2 separate regions of the Homo sapiens genome follow, and region 1 is linked to region 2. Evidence: promoter capture Hi-C in human tissues and cell types (Jung and others, 2019). All regions are on one chromosome and are shown on one strand. The core of a region is centred on a gene start or on the middle of the fragment in contact, and the rest is flanking DNA. Distances in the headings are between cores, read along the strand shown. Region 1 overlaps PSMB2 (proteasome 20S subunit beta 2). Region 2 holds the start of TFAP2E (transcription factor AP-2 epsilon).

Region 1 (2,729 bases), core at 134-2,633, 55 kb after region 2:
GGGATAACACACATCTTATGGTGTCATAATAAGGATACTTAATAACAGATACATATGTAAGTATTTAGAATAGCACTGTCCAAGAGAACTTCTATGATGATGGATATGTTCCAGATCTGTGATGTCTAATACAATAGTTGTGGCTATTGGGTACCTGAAATGTGGCTGTGACTGAGGAACAGAATTTTTTTTTTTAAGAACAAAAGTTGATTTAGCATTCAGGCAAAGTCTACCAGGAGATTTTCCACCAGAAACTGAATTTTAAGTTTTATTTAATTTTAATTAACTTAAATTTAAATAGCCCCATGTGGCTAGTTGGCTACCATACTGGACTGTGTAGATCTAGAAAAATCCTAGCACATAATATATGTTCAATGTTATTTTACTTCTATTTTCCCTATCAATACCAGCATGGTGGCTTGGCGCCTGTAGTTCCAGCTATTTGGGAGGCTGAAGTGGGAGTATTGTTTGAGCCCGGGAGGTTGAGGCTGCAGTGAGCTGTGACTGTGCCACCTCTTAGGTGACAGAGCGAGACCCTATCTCAAAAAAAAAAAAAAAAAAAAAAAAGCACAACAAATGATCCCTCACGAAAAACTAACTTATAGCCATTAAATTGCTTCTTTGACCAAACAGCAATCGCAGCATAAAAACACAAGTGGGCTGGGCATGGTGGCTCATGCCTGTAATCCTAGCACTTTGGGAAGCAGAAGCGGGAGGATTGCTTGAGCCCAGGAGTTCGGGACCAGCCTGGCAACATGGAGAAACCCCATCTCTACAAAAAATTAGCCAGGCATAGTGGTATGCACCTACAGTCCCAGCTGCCAGGGAGGCTGAGGTGGAAGGATCATCTGGGCCTGAAAGGTCAAGGGGCTGCAGAGAGCTGTGGTCATACCACTGCACTCCAGCCTAGATGACAGAGTGAGATCCTGTCTCAAAAAAAAAGTAAGAGCTTTGCATTATTACCTTATTTAATCTTCATAATAACTTTTTGAAATTGGTAAGTAGGGAAATTAAGCTTAGAATTTGTCCAAAGACATCCAGCTAGTAAGTCAGTAAGCAAATATTCAAACCCAGGTAGTCCAATTCCAGAGACTATGCTCTTAACCACAATGCTAAATTGCCTACATTTTAATGAACCAGTTTATGTAAGATTCATTATATACTCAGTGGTAGTAAATGTCCTCCCAACCAAACCACCACACATACACAGAGCAAATTAGAAATCAAACAATTTGAGCTACAGACACAGAAGTTATACATGGTAACTGGCTGACCCAAAATGAGTCACATCTGCCAACTGGTGTGACCATATAAATATACTAAATTTGGTGACTTTGCACTTATTAGGAACACTGACAAACTATCATCTCTCTTCCCAGAATAAGACGACTAAAATATAAATTCATATTTTAGAACTAAGAATCTATTTTGATAAGGAGATGGGGGAGCAGAGATTGGACCTACTGGAAAAGCTCAGGCAGAGGTAGTCAATATTTACCAGAGCCCCATGTCACTGTCTACAAGGGATATTTGTTAAGACATCAAACATTTCTGCTAGGAGAAGATTAAACCAGATTCACTGCATTTGCATGAAGCACACTGCCATTCTTATCTCAATTCCAAAAAGGAGCTTAATTCACTTAATGTCTGTGATATTTATGACACAGTATTTATTGTGCCCAAAGCTGGAATTCTTACTCCGGTTCTGCCTGATAAGTCAGAGGAACATCGTACATGGCAAGTCATAAAATGCTGAACACCACAGGAACTTCTGGGTGACAGAAAAACTAATATCTGACCCATTTTCCTTTCTCAAGGAGGAGTGAAGAAAAGACCACTTGGTGACAATGACTTTCTTGGAAGAAAAAAAAAAAAAAAAAAATATATATATATATATATATATATATATATATATATTTTTTTTTTTTTTTTTAAAGAAAAGACTACTGATCTTTCACCCAGGACAAAACAATGTATGTAAATTTGCCTCCTCCTCTCAATCCTACATGTCTCTAGCTTCTCTTCAAACTTCATGATCCCTCAGATTGTACAAGCCCTTGGTCAAAGCTAGCACTGAGAGGTACTATTTATTGAGAAATTATCAGTCAAAGATTATTAGGCACTAGAAAATAAACTGCTTTATAGATCTGTAGTAAGTAACTTTAAAAAAAGTAACTTGTTATTTTAAGCAAGTACAGATGAAAACTCAAACCATAATAAAAATATGAATAGCATCAGTGTTCTAGAAACACTACTGAAGAACCAAAGGCAGAATAGTCAAATAATTATGGCACCATTATTTTAGCTTTGTCTGACCTGCTGTGTGACCTGGAGCTAGTCCCTTTGACACTTTATGCCTTTCACTTCATCTCAGTGATAGAGACTATCTTTCTCAGTGGAATAGTGAGTAGATTAAATTATTAAGCAAAATGCTTTGGGCAAAAGTCACATGAATGTTAAATATTATGATTTACAAGCATTCATTTTCCTGGCACCCCTGTGGGGTTAGGAAGTTATCTCCATTTCATAGATAAGTAAACAGGCACAGGGGGTGAGATCACGTGGTAAGGCTCTATTTATTTAGTCCCTGTGGGAAGGGAATAACACACACCTTTAGCAACCATATGAACTTTCCTAGCACATCCTACACAATCTTTAATGCATTCAATCCTTAACTTAGTGTTGCATCTTTTAACATGCTGTCGATGAAATGGAGACAGCTCTAGAAT
Region 2 (2,729 bases), core at 63-2,562:
ACAGTTAGGCAGAGTCAGGACTAAATCCAAGCCCCTGAGTCTGAGGCAGTAGAGAATAGTGATTCTGAGCAGAGAGGGGCCAGGGGCAGATCACCCCAGCTCTGCCACTTAGCTGCTTGACCTTGGGCAAGCCATTTAACCTCTCCATGCCTCACCCCTCCCCTGAAAATGGGGATGATATGGGTATCTCTTTCATAGAGCTGCTGTGAGGGTTAAAGAACCCAATATTCGTGAAGCACTTTGCACAGAGGCTGGCACATTCTGTAATAAGTCTGCTGTGATTATTTCTACTTTGCCCTGGTCTGCACATCTTGCTTTTAAAAAACATCTTTCTTCTGCTTTCTTAATTCCTGTTCTCCTTAGCATTCCTCTCATTTGTCCATCTTTAATCCCTGTCTCTGCTTGTCAGGAGGGGAGGGTTGGGTTTGGGGAGAAAGAGAGAGTGACTACAGAGACTGGAACTTGCTTGACAGCCAGGGAGTGCCTGCCATGGTAACACAGGAACATGTAGCCTGCGCATGTTAGTGTAACAATCACACGGCATCCATGCTAGTCAGTTACACACAGTCACTCAACAGTCTCTGGGTATCTCATGCCCACACTCAATCAGCCCAGGACCCTGTGGCTTCAGAAATATCTTGGCCCCTTGTCAGGTGGAGCTCATACCCAAACCCATCCCAGGCAAGTCTCTCTCTCTGTCTGGCCAGCTTCTGTCTCCAACTCCCTCAGAGCCTGGCTTGGCTTGGAAGTTTTCAGCCCAGGAAGCCTGAGAGCGAAGTGGGCACCTTCGAGGGATTTTGATCCAGAACCATTCAGGAAAGACTGTGATGGTAGACCCCCTAAACACACGCACTGACACTGTGTGCGCATGAGCAGATAGGCTGGAGTCTTCAGCTCACAAACTTCTTCCACGTTCCCGATTACCCACCTCATCCAAAGTCTCTTGAGGTGCTTAGAGAAAGGATTGATACCTATTTTACCGAGGAAGCTGAGGCCAGCGAAGAATAGTGCTTTGCTTAAAGGCAAGGATGTGATAGAGCCAGGCAAATGTAGGGCCCTTGCGTCCCAGCCTCGAATATTTCTGTTTCACTGCAGCTGCGAGCTGCGAGCCCAGAAGGCGGCTCTGATCAATGTGGGCTGAATTCACGCCCCCTACCCACCCTACCCGATCCCGCCAAAGCCACTGCCTCCCCTGTGGCAGCCGCTGGGGAAAAGGGAGAGAACTGCCATAGCTTGTCTCTTTAATGCGCGCCCCCGGAGGCCCGGCGCGCCCCCGCCACTATAACTGGAGTGCATGGAGCAGGCTACGCTCAGAGGAGGAAGGGCGGGCGCTGGGCACCCGTTGACCGACTTTTCCAAGTGCGATCAGTGCCCGTCCGTCCTGCCTCCATGGACCCGCCCGGGAACGGCCACCGCTGAGGACCCCACGCCCACTAGGATCCCGGCTGGGTCGCACCCAGCTACCGCACCGTGACCTCCGCGGGCTGTGCCGGCTCCCGGCGCCTCTGCCCGCAGCGCTCGCCGTCGGGCTAGGGCTCCGCCGCCGCCACGCCTCGCGCCCGGCACTCACCGCCCCATGCTGGTGCACACCTACTCCGCCATGGTGAGTAGTCTCGGGCCCGGGACATATTCGGCCGGGGGATCGGGGCGCCTGAGTGCTGGACTTTCCAACCCTCCTGTCCCGCGCTAACGAAATCTCGGAGGGAGGGGGCCGCAGGGACTTCGCCAGCTGAGAACGCGATGCGCAAGTGACCGCTGTCCCCAGCCTGAGGCTCCTGCGCCCGCGGGTGGCTCGGAAATAAACCTCGGGCCCCAAGAAACGGGAGGGACTGCAGCTGAACCCTCCCGAGCTGAGGAGGATCCTTTCAGGCTGGGGTCCTTTCAGCTGCCAGTGGGTCACCTAAGGCACCCCTCTCCTTCCCCAGGAGCGCCCCGACGGGCTGGGAGCAGCTGCCGGCGGGGCCCGCCTGTCGTCTCTGCCCCAGGCGGCCTACGGGCCGGCGCCCCCGCTCTGCCACACGCCGGCCGCCACAGCTGCCGCCGAATTCCAGCCGCCCTACTTCCCGCCGCCCTACCCGCAGCCACCGCTGCCCTACGGTCAGGCGCCCGACGCCGCCGCAGCCTTTCCCCACCTGGCAGGGGACCCATATGGCGGCCTGGCGCCCCTGGCGCAGCCGCAGCCTCCTCAGGCCGCCTGGGCCGCGCCCCGCGCAGCCGCCCGCGCCCACGAGGAGCCTCCCGGCCTGCTGGCACCGCCCGCCCGCGCCCTGGGCCTTGACCCGCGCCGTGACTATGCCACTGCCGTGCCCCGGCTCCTGCACGGCCTGGCCGACGGCGCGCACGGCCTGGCAGACGCACCTCTCGGCCTTCCGGGGCTGGCGGCGGCCCCCGGTCTGGAGGACCTGCAGGTGAGACCCGAGGGATCCGGGATGGGTCGGGACTGGCCGCGGTGGTTTACTACCATGGCTGGAGGCAGAAGGTGACAAATGCAGGAAGCCGACTTTTCTCCCAGCTCGCCACATCTCACTGGTGACTCCGAGGATGTGTCCCACCTCCTGGGTTAGACGTTGCCTGGCCATCAAGGCTGCCTGGCACTGAGTCCGCCAGCAGTGCGTGGGTGGCAGCAACCCTCGGCAGGGACCGAATCACTTCTTTTCTCCCCGCTGCCACGTGTGGCATCCATGGGGCAGCCTGCACCTGGGGCGAAGAGAAGCATAATAGTTACCAGT

The links. Contacts are between HindIII fragments. The study calls those that stand out against the background at their distance.
Region 1: a contact is called between a fragment that was not itself captured here and the fragment with the promoter of TFAP2E in region 2, in 6 of the 25 tissues and cell types used here (H1 embryonic stem cells, heart right ventricle, liver and 3 more).

What each region holds. Positions count from the first base shown.
Region 1 is chr1:35,626,716-35,629,444 of GRCh38, forward strand. All of the region lies in intron 3 of PSMB2 (proteasome 20S subunit beta 2), which reads right to left. Among named protein-coding and RNA genes, the nearest start is that of PSMB2, 13 kb to the right of the region's middle. The HindIII fragment of the contact is 9,137 bases long and covers 1-2,729 here.
Region 2 is chr1:35,572,002-35,574,730 of GRCh38, forward strand. It overlaps TFAP2E (transcription factor AP-2 epsilon), which reads left to right and starts at 1,313. Exons shown (of 7, transcript NM_178548.4): 1 at 1,313-1,603; 2 at 1,926-2,408. The coding sequence starts at 1,577. TFAP2E-AS1 (TFAP2E antisense RNA 1) reads right to left here. Exons shown (of 3, transcript NR_183387.1): 2 at 2,359-2,697. RefSeq lists enhancers at 1,277-1,776, 2,018-2,729. The HindIII fragment of the contact is 7,667 bases long and covers 1-2,729 here.